Regions from separate parts of the Homo sapiens genome. Here region 2 is linked to region 1. Evidence: promoter capture Hi-C in human tissues and cell types (Jung and others, 2019). All regions are on one chromosome and are shown on one strand. Each heading gives the region's core, a stretch centred on a gene start or on the middle of the fragment in contact. The rest is flanking DNA. Distances are from core to core; before and after follow the strand shown. Region 1 holds the start of CHRNB3 (cholinergic receptor nicotinic beta 3 subunit). Region 2 overlaps SLC20A2 (solute carrier family 20 member 2).

Region 1 (5,559 bases), core at 2,099-4,598:
TGAACAGGATTTCATAAAAATCTTCAGGATTATTTATGGTTTTACTGATAATGCCATTTTTTTATCCTCAGCCAGGACAGAAAAGAAATAATTGGGCCGGGCATGGTGGCTCATGCCTGTAATCCCAGCACTTTGGGAGGCCGGAGCGGGTGGATCTCCTAAGGTCAGGAGTTTGAGACCAGCCTGGCCAACATGGTGAAACCTCATCTCTACTAAAAATAAAAAAGAATTAGGTGTGATGGTGGGCACCCGTAATCTCAGCTACTCGGGAGGCTGAGGCAGGAGAATCCCTTCAATCCAGGAGGCAAAGGTTGCAGTGAGCCAAGATTGCCACTGCACTCCAGCCTGGGTGACAGAGCGAGATTCCGTCTCAAAAAAACCACAAAAAACAAAAAACAAGGCCGGGCGCAGTGGCTCACACCTGTAATCCCAGCACTTTGGGAGGCCGAGGTGGGTGGATCACGAGGTCAGGAGATTGAGACCATCCTGGCTAACACGGTGAAACCGCATCTCTACTAAAAATACAAAAAATATTAGCTGGGCGTGGTGGTGGGCACCTGTAGTCCCAGCTCCTCTGGAGGCTGAGGTAGGAGAATGGCGTGAACCCGGGAGGCGGAGCTTGCAGTGAGCAGAGATCGCGCCACTGTACTCCAGCCTGGGCGACAGAGCGAGACTCCATCTCAAAAAAAAAAAAGAAAAGAAATTATTGAAGAATTCCAAATCTCAGCAAAGACGATTGTGAAATGTGGATTTTTTTGCTTTGATGCCTTTTGGTATATTTTGTTTCTTCCTTCCACTATTGCCGCCTCGTCAAAAAAAAAAAAAAAAAAAGCATACCACAAATATGGCAGCCTCTTCCGTCACCCATGGAGCTAGCCCTCATGGTGAAATCAAAGAATGCATATTCAATGGATTCTTGATAGCATGAGACCTTTTTCTTCTTTTTTTGAGACCGAGTTTCGCTCTTGTTGCCCAAGCTGGAGTGCAGTGGTGTGATCTCGGCTTTCTGCAACCTCTGCCTCCCAGGTTCAAGCGATTCGATTCTTCTGCCTCAGTCTCCCGAGCAGCTGGGATTACAGGCGTGTGCCACCACGCCTGGCTAATTTTTTGTATTTTTAGTAGAAACGGAGTTTCACCATGTTGGTCAGGCTGGCCTCAAACTCCTGACCTCAGGTGATCTGCCTACCTTGGCCTCCCAAAGTGTTGGGATTACAGGTGTGAGCCATGATGCCCAGCTGAGAGCTTATTAGAAAATGGCTTTGTTTTTATTTCCTCTTGCATTCCTAGACACTGGAACCATTCCTAGGATACAGTAGATGCTCAATAAGTATTTATTGAATGAATAAACACATTGTGTCTTATCATATCATCATGTTGTAAGAGAGATGGGAAGATAAATAAGATACACCTCCTGCTTTTTGAGAGCAGATAGCACACACAAAATATGAAATAGCAATATGAGAGACAACCCATGGCCACACCCAAGGCTCCTTTTTACCAAAGCCAGAAATATAAAAATGAAGGGGTTGCCTCTTGTAATTTGAAAAAAGTAGTTTTGCATAACAAAAAGAAACTATTTTGTTTACAATGAATAGTAAAGTTAAAAAATGTAAGGAAATATGGGACAGATTTAAAAATATGAGCAGATGCTGATGGATCTAGAAATACAGATGTAAGATTTATCACAGGTTATTAGATTTATTATAGATCTGTGAAAGATTACACAATCTTCCCAAACTCTTCCAGCCCACACAATGGAGACCAATGCCAGAGGCCAAGCAATTCCAGTTTTCTTATGTAATCATGATTGTACACAGAGGACGAGACTTAGCTGAACCAAGAGAGTTTATGCTAAACACCCTCGCTAACCATTGAGAGAAATCATTCCTTGGGAAAAGAGTGGTAAGAATCAATTGTCTTATAATAAATAGAATAATAAAGACAGAAAAACATCAGACACACGTACATTAATGGTAAGCTCAAACACACAGAATTTTCTTATCATTTTTGTGATTGGCAAACTGCATTCAAGACTTTGAAAAGTCCAAATTTCATGATATTTGAAAGTGAGTTTGAGGCTTTCTGCATTTAGAAATTCCTGTTTGACTTTGAGTCCTTGGTCTGAGAAAAGGCGTTTTTGACAACAGGATAATGTTCAGGTGCCTCGCAGCCTTGGGAACTTGAAATGTAGAATTTATTTCTGGATTTGGGCAAATCTCCCTTAGTGTCTCCAGTTCTCCATTTGAAAATTACAATAATCAAACGTGGCAAAAATACTACTGAGAAATTAATACAAATTGCTAGTGAACTGACACTTTTCTCACCATCTGGCTGCGGTTTCAGATGGTTTCTGATTCAATGGGGGAAAACTTTCTGTTCTCAAGTTACACAAAAAGTGAAAAGATTCCCAAACCCAGGAAATTGGCAGGTGCAAATGACCAATCCCCAAAGCCTTTCAGTACTTTATTCCCCTTTCTTTTTCTCTTTTTGTTCTTTCTCTGCATCTCTGTCTCTATCTTTCACTTTTTCCTTTTATTTGTCCTTTATCCTTATCAAAAATTCCTCTATTTTCAGTTGATAATAGTCACATAAAACACATAGAGTTTTGATACATTGGTGTTTAATTGTGATATATAAACATGCTAAATCTACCTACATACACAGATTTATTAAAATATATAGGCCTACAGGGCATATTGGACAAAATTAAATATCTACATGCAGATATAGAAATTATTGGTAAATATGATAGAAAAATGTTGATATAGTAAATTTCTGTGCCAAATATTTGAACAATTCTCTGAGTAATGCTCAGTGCATTCAATAATGTTTTTCCTGCTTTTGTATTTTCTTACCAAGCTCATAGTGATTCAGAAGGAGAAACGCAGCAAATGACAAAAACATAAACATTATGAAAATCATAGATATGATTTCTTCAGCAAAAAAAACCCCACATCTCACAGAATTACTCATTTGGGCCACATTTTAAAGGTTATCCTAAATGTATCTTGTGCATTACATATTGTAATTCTAACATTATCAACACCATAGTTTTGCCTCCTCTGCTTAAATAATTCTGCAACTGTAGTTTTAATTTACTGTGACTTGTGCTTACCTGAGGAAGGGATGCCAAGGACGATGAGAACCAGCATAAAATCTGGGAGCATCGTGATGTCAGTTTCAGAAAGACAGTTTCTTCCTTTTTAACAACAGAGCATTTCCACTGGAAAAGGGGGTTTTGAAAAGAAAATACAGGGGTTCAAAATCCGAAGTGGAACCCAAGAGGACAGCAACACCTGGAGTGGAATAAAACAATCTCAACCCCTCTCGCCGAGTGTGCCGCTTCTCAAAGTGCACTTCATTGATTTGCAGTCAGCTGTCAGATCGTGTAAGTCTAAAACATATCTCTGGGTCCTAACTCCTGACTTATTAATTTACTCCCTTGCAAGAGATGCGGGGCACTGGAGAAAGGATGAAACTAGACAACTTCTGAATGTTCTGTGCTATTTTTCTTACAGTTGGAGATCTGCGTACAGAAGAACCACACTTTACCACATCCATAGTGAAAAGTTTCTCATCCCCGTTATTTCTCTATTCTCTTTTCTTTTTCTTTTTATTCTTTTTTTTTTTTTTTTGATATGGAGTCTCACTCTGTCACCCAGGCTGGAGTGCAATGGTGCAATCTCGGCTCACTGCAACCTCCGTCTCCCAGGTTCAAGCCATTCTCCCACCTCAGCCTCCTGAGTAGCTGGGATTATAGGCACCTGCCATCATGCCCAGCTAATTTTTGTATTTTTGTAGAGACAGGGTTTCACCATGTTGGCCAGGTTGGTCTTGAACTCCTGACCTCAGGAGATCCGCCCGCCTTGGCCTCCCAAAGTGGTGGGATTACAGGCATGAACCACTGCGCCCAGCCTCTCTATTCTCTTTTCCAGTTGGACCTGAAGTCATGAGTATGTCCTGGAGCCTCCCTATTCTGCTGGTTCCCACATGTGTTAATATCAGCACATTCTCTGTGGCTCCCTTGACCCCACCAGGCCCACCTTCTGGTCACTGCAGGGGACAGTAGGGTGGGAGGTTAGTGGTGTTTTATGTATGAGACTTGGACACTAATAACACCATCCTTTCTTCTTCACAGTTGATCAGATTTCATCTAGTTCAGTGCTGTGCACACCCAGAGGGCCCTTGATAAATGCATGATACATCAAATGAATGGCAAGTACAAAGTCAGGGCTAGACAGACAAGAGGGCCAGGTGGGAGCCAAGACCTATCTGGTTGGGAACTGAGTGCTGGAGGAACCCACTCCAGGGCATGGAGGAATTCTGTCTTAGCGGCAGTGATTTAGTCCAATTTTTAAATTTCTTAATTTAACCCTCCTCTGTGTGCCATTAGTGAGTTTGAGACACCCAGAGGGTGCTCGGTAAGGAGGCATCATGTGTGGAAAAGAGGTCTAGCCCAGGACCCCGGGACCCTGAGCTCTTGAGCCCTGTCTGTTCCTCAGGGCCCCTGTCTCAGAGCCCCTCACATCACAATGTCGCTGCCCTGCCTGGCCTCCCTTCCTAGACCACCAGCTCCTGCAGGAGGGCTTGGTCTCCAGCCCTCTGGAGTCTCCTCTGTATCTCTCTGTGTCCAGGGCCTGACACCTGCAAATGCTTGAGAACGTTGTGGGAATGCAAGGAGGAAGGAAGGAGCCATGCACTGATTTCCTCCTATCCATCTCAACTGTGCTCCCAGCCTGCTGAGAATTTGTAATGGTCTCAGGAGTAAATCAGCCACCGCCAATCCAAGTGTGCAGGAAGTTTCACCTTTATTTTCAAGAAATTGAATAAAATGAAGCTAGCCTTCCATGGAACTGGCTGGAAATCCAATCTCAGTCATTGCAGGCCCTGCAGCCTTCTCCCTAGGGGAGCAACTGAATCTGGAAGCCTTTTGTGGTCCCCAAAATATGGCACAGTCTTGTATCCTCCAGGCTGCCTTGACCACAGCTGGGGTCCATGCCCCACCCACACGGTCCCATGGAGCCAACAGCTCGGTTGCTCTTTGCCTTCTCCGATGCCAAGGATTCTGCCAAGACCCAGGATTCTGCCAATACCGGAGGCCTTGGTAACAGGACCCTGCCTCCCTGGGTCCCACACAACCCTGGCCTGCTGAGGACTGCACCCCTTGAGTGCAACCCTGAGCAGGGCACGGTCCTGCTGCCAGAAGGACCTGCCAGCCCCTTCCTATGCCTTGGGAAGTTCTTTTCTGTCTCACTTTACAGCCACCTTTCTCCCTGCAAAGATACTCAACTCTTCACCATCCCACTGTAGAAACCTCAAATCATCTCTCCATTGAGTTTAGACTTTGGGGGGAAAAGCGGACATCAAATAGACACAGGAAAAGAGGCTGTCTTGCTCTGTTGCCCAGGCTGGAGTGCAGTGGCGCAATCTCGCCTCACTACAACCTTCACCTCCCAGGTTCAAGCAATTCTCCTGCCTCAGCCTCCTGAGTAGCTGGGATTACAGGTGTCCACCAGCACGTGCAGGTAATTTTTATATTTTTAGTAGAAACAGGGTTTC
Region 2 (5,559 bases), core at 1,060-3,559, 260 kb after region 1:
CTTGGAGACAGCATGCTCTGTCCTATGTTAGTAACTTTTTGTCTGCCCCCACACCGTCCCACTTCCTCCTCCTCATCAAGCATTCTTTCCAGAAGGCCTGGTACTGGCAGAGCGCTAGGAACTGGGTCCTCGTCCATTAGAAGTTTAAACGCCAGTTAGGGAGATGAGAAAAACATATCCGTGGAAAAGTAACAACACATTCTCTAACATTCACACACTCAGATGCACACACACACGCACACACACTCACATGCGCACTCACACGCACACTCACACATGGACTCACGCACATTCACACACACACCATGTTTCATTTCAAAGGAAGCATCTAGGCAGTGGCTGCTCGGGGTGACTGTAGAATTGCGAAGAGTTGCTTGCAGCGTGGGGACTATTCTGGGGCTTTGGAGCAGGGAGAGCGTCTGGTGAAAGCACCATTCTAGAAGTCATCTGAGTGAGAAGAGGCGTCCATGCATTCAGCACGAGGTTGAGCCCCGAGGCCTCAGCACTGAGCTGCCATGGCCTATCCCACCCTGTCTCTAACATCCCTCTGAGCCAGGGGCGGGTGTCTCTCAGAGATGGGATCTGATGCTCAGGGCCACACAGCAAAACCAAAGCCAAATTGGAATCCAGTTTCAGTGACTCAGTGATACCCAGTCTACACAGCTGGCTGGGGGAGGAGACAAGAGCTTGCAGTGAGCTGGGACCATGCCACTGCACTCCAGCCTGGGCGACAGAGTGAGACTGTCTCAAAAAAAAAAATAATCCATTTAATAGGCCGGGTGTGGTGGCTCACGCCTATAATCTCAACACTTCGGGAGGCCGAGGCAGGTGGATCACCTGAGGTCGGGCGTTCAAGACCAGCCTGGACAACATGGTGAAACCCCACCTCTACTAAAAATACAAAAATTAGCTGGGCCTGTTTCTGGGCACTTGTGGTCCCAGCTACTCAGGAAGCTGAGGCACAAGAATCACTTGAACCCAGAAGGCGGAGGTTGCAGTGAGCCGAAATTACACCACTGCACTCCAGCCTGGTGAGATTGTGCCACTGCACTCCAGCCTGGGCAACAGAGGGAGACTCTCTCAAAAATAATAATAATAAATTACACACCTATTAGGATGGCTACCACTTAAAAAAAAAAGTAACAAGTGTTGTCAAGGATGTAGAGAAATTGTAACCCTGTGCACCATTAGTGGGGGTGTAAAATGGTGTAACCACTATGGAAAACAGGATGGAGGCTCCTCAAAAAATTAAACAGACCTCCCCTATGACCCAGCATTCCTGCTTCCGGGTATACATACAGAAGAATTGAAAGCAGAGTCTCAAAGAGATATTTGTACCACATGTTCAAAGCACTGCCGTTTGCAATAGGCAAGAGGGGAGAACAACCCAGATGTCCACTGCCAGGTGAATGGAAACAAATTATGTCCATGCATACACTGGAATATTATTTAGCCTTTAAAAAGAAGGAAGTCCTGTCACTTGCTGTAACATGGATGAACCTGGAGGACATTAGGCTAAGTGAAATAAACCATCACAGAAAGATAAATACTACTCATGCCTGTAATCCCAGCACTTTGGGAGGCTGAGGCGGGCGGATCATGAGGTCAGGAGATCAAGACCATCCTGACTAACACAGTGAAACCCCATCTGTACTAAAAATACAAAAAATTAGCCAGGCGTGGTGGCACGTGCCTGTAATCCCAGCTACTCAGGAGGCTGAGGCAGGAGAATTGCTTGAACCCAGGTGGAGGATATTGCAGTGAGCCGAGATCATGTCACTGCACTCCAGCCTGGGCAACCAAGCAAGACTCCATCTCAAAAAAAAAGATAAATACTCTATGATTCCACTTCTATGAGCTGTCTACAGCAGTCAAATTCCTAGAACTAGAAAGTAGGATGGTGGTTGCCATTAGCTGCGGGGAGGGGCAGTGGGAATTTGTTTAAAGAGTGCAGAGTTTCACATTTGCAAGATGAACAAGTTCTGGAGATCTGTTTCACAACAATGTAAATATACTTAACACTGCTGAACTATAAATAAGAATGATTACGATGGTAAATTTTATGTTATGCTTTTTACCAAAATTAAAAAAAAATCATTTGGACCATGAATAGATTATATAGGTGAACCTCAAATACACCAAGTTGAGCTATGCTCAAGACAAAAGTCACCATGTACAGGAACACCTGGGAGACACTGTGGGTTCCATTCCAGACCACTACAATAAAACAAGTTTCACAATACCCATGAAGTTTTTGGTGTCCCAGTACATAGAAAAGTTATGTTTCTGTAATAGTATACCATAGTCTATTAAATGCGTCTTAAAAACAATGTACATACCTTAATTTGAAAATACTTTATTGCTAAAAAATAATGCTAGCAATCCTGTGAACATTCAGCAATTCATTATTTTGCTGATGGAGGGTCTGGGCCTTGATGTTGATGTCTGCTGACTCATCAGGGTGGTGGTGATTAAAGGTTGGGGTGGCTGTGGCCATTTCTTAAATTAAGACAACAATGAAATTTGCCGCATCAATTAACTTCCTTTCACAAAAGATTTCTTTGCAGCATGTAATGCAGTTTGATAACATTTTACCCACCGTAGAATTTCTTTCAAAATTGGAGTCAATCCCCTCACACCCAGCCTCTGCTCTGATAACTGAGTTTGTGGAATATTCTAAATCCTTTGTTGTCATCTCAACAATGTTCACAACATCTTCACCAGGAGTAGATTTCATCTCAAGAAACTTTCTTTGCTCATCCATAAGAAGCACCTCCTCATCTTTTCAAGTTCTTTCATGAGATTGCAGTAGTTCAGTCACATCGCCAGACTCCACTTCTAGTTCTCTTGCTGTTTCCACCACATCTGCAGTGGCTTCCTTCATTTAAGTTTTGAATCCCTCAAAGTCATCTGTGAGAGTTGGAATCAGCTTCTTCCAAACTCCTGTTAATGTTGGTATTTGCACTTCCTCCCATGAATCACGAATGTTCTAATGGCATCTGGAATGGGGGATCCTTTCCAGAAGGTTTCAATGGACTCCCTAGACCCATCAGAGGAATCACTATCTATGGCAGCTCTAGCCCTACAAAGTGTATTTCTTAAGTAATAAGACTTGAAAGTCAAACTGCTCTTTGATCCATGGGCTGCAGAACAGATGCTGTGTTTGCAGACAGGAAAACAACATTCATCTCCTTGCATATCTCCGTCAGAGCTCTCTGGTGACCAAGTGCATTGTCAATGAGCAGTAATATTTTGAAATATTAATATTTTTTTCTGAGCAGTAGGTCTCAACAGTAGGCTTAAAATATTCAGTAAACCATGCTGTAAACAGATGTGCTTTGTTGTTCCATTTCTAGAGCACAGGCAGAGTAGATTTAGCATCATTCCTAAGAGCAATAGGAGTTTTGGAATGGTAAGTGAACATTGGCTTCAACTAAAGTTACCAGCTGCATTAGCCTCTGAGAAGAGAGTCAGCCTGTCCTTTGAAGCTTTGAAGCCAGGCATTGCCTTCTCTCTGGCTATGGAAGTCCTAGCTGGCATCTTCTACCAATAGAAGACTGTTCTTCTACATTGAAAATCTATTGTTAGTGTAGCCACCTTCATCAGTGATCTTAGATGGATCTTCTGGAGAACTCGCTGCAGCTTCTCCATCAGCACTTGCTACTTCACCTTGCACTTTTATGCTATGAGGATGGCTTCTTTCCTTAAACCTCCAGAACCAACCTCTGCTAGCTTCCAGCTTTTCTTTAGCTTCCTGACTTCTCTCAGCCTTCACAGAATTGAAGAGAACTAGGGCCTTGCTCTGGATTAGGCTTTGACTTAAGGGAATGTTGTGGCTGGTTTGATCTTCTATCCAGACCACTCAAACTGTCTCCATATCAGCACTAAGGCTGTTTTGCTTTCTTATTATTCATGTGTTCATTGAAGTAGCACTTTAAATTTCCTTCAAGAAGCTTTCCCTTTGCATTCAGAGCTTGGCTAACTGTTTGGCCCAAGAGGCCTAGTTTTTGGCCTGTCTCCGATTTTGACATGCCTTCCTCACTAAGCTTAATCATTTCCAGTTTTTTATTTAAACTGAGAGACATGCAACTCTTCCTTTCAGTTGAACACTTAGAGGGCACTGTACGGTAATTTATTGGCTTAATTTCAATATAGCAATATCTCAGGAAATAGGCTGGAGGAGAGGGAGAGAGACAAGGCAGTGGCCGGTCAGTGGAGCAGGGAGAACACACACAGCATTTATCAGTGAAGCTCACCGTCTCATATGGGAACAGTTCATGGCACCCCAAAACAATTATAATAGTAACATAAAAGATCACTGATCACAGATCACCATAACAGATATGATAATAATGAAAAATTCGGGAATACTGTGAGAATTACCAAAATGTGACACAGAGACATGACGTGAGCACATACTGCTGGAAAGTCGCTCCAGCGGACTTGCTTGGTGTGGGGGTGCCACAAACCTCAAATTCATAAAAAACATCCTATCTGAAGGCCAGGTACAGTGGCTCATGCCTGTAATCCCAACACTTTGGGAAGCCAAGGTGGGCAGATCACAAGGTCAGGGGTTCGAGACCAGCCTGGCCAACATGGTGAAACCCCATCTCTACTAAAAATACAAAAATTAGCTGGGTGTGGTGGCCCGCGGCTGTAGTCTCAATTACTCAGGAGGCTGAGGCAGGAGAATCGCTTGAACCGGAGAGGTGGAGGTTGCAGTGAGCCGAGATCACACCACTGCACTCAAGCCTGGGCAACAGAGCAAGACTCTGTCTCAAAAAAAAAGAAAGAAAAACATCATATCTGTGGAGTGTGATAAAGTGAAGCACAATAAAACAAAGTCACCTGTATCATGTACATTGCCGCTTGCATATATAGTTAATCTTTTCTCTTTTTATTTTTCCCAGTAATGCCATCGGTCCCCTGGTAGCCTTGTGGCTGATTTACAAACAAGGCGGGGTAACGCAAGAAGCAGCTACACCCGTCTGGCTGCTGTTTTATGGAGGAGTTGGAATCTGCACAGGCCTCTGGGTCTGGGGGAGAAGAGTGATCCAGACCATGGGGAAGGACCTCACTCCCATCACGCCGTCCAGGTAAGCCTGGGCTGGTGGACGAGCAGGGCAGGTCTTGTCATCCGAGGCCTGGGTAGAGCTTCCCGGCTGTGTCTGAACGGCCTGCTCAGCACTGGCAGTTGGCAGCGGGTCACAGGGAGGAGGAGACAGTGGGCAAGAATGGCCCCACCTAGCATGCCACCTATCCTTGCCCTCCCTTACTGTGCCCGGCCCCCAGCCACAGCGTCCCTGAGATGAGGAGTGGGAAGGGCAGACAAGCAGGGGTAGTGGAGCAGAGCAGGCAGGGAAGAGAGGAGAAGCTCACCCTCAGCCAGCACGGGGGCCAAAGGCAGGTGGGCAGGGAGGGCACAGACTTAAACAGGCCCCTGGGCTGGCCTTTCCTGAAAGTTCTCTGGCCACCCCAGCTCTCAGCAACCACCCTGCTGGGGTTACTTTCCTCTTGCTCTGCCAGACAGGGAGGCGCCCCCTGCCATTGTGGGTGAGC

What was found. Contacts are between HindIII fragments. The study calls those that stand out against the background at their distance.
Region 2: a contact is called between a fragment that was not itself captured here and the fragment with the promoter of CHRNB3 in region 1, in 2 of the 25 tissues and cell types used here (hippocampus and pancreas).

The regions. Positions count from the first base shown.
Region 1 is chr8:42,695,155-42,700,713 of GRCh38, reverse strand. It overlaps CHRNB3 (cholinergic receptor nicotinic beta 3 subunit), which reads right to left and starts at 3,348. Exons shown (of 6, transcript NM_000749.5): 1 at 3,116-3,348. The coding sequence starts at 3,167. It overlaps LOC124900250 (a long non-coding RNA gene), which reads left to right and starts at 1,823. Exons shown (of 3, transcript XR_001745887.2): 1 at 1,823-1,902; 2 at 3,214-3,388; 3 at 4,139-4,216. The HindIII fragment of the contact is 12,880 bases long and covers 1-5,559 here.
Region 2 is chr8:42,429,601-42,435,159 of GRCh38, reverse strand. SLC20A2 (solute carrier family 20 member 2) reads left to right here. Exons shown (of 11, transcript NM_001257180.2): 9 at 4,911-5,096. Among named protein-coding and RNA genes, the nearest start is that of VDAC3, 40 kb to the right of the region's middle. The HindIII fragment of the contact is 7,335 bases long and covers 1-5,559 here.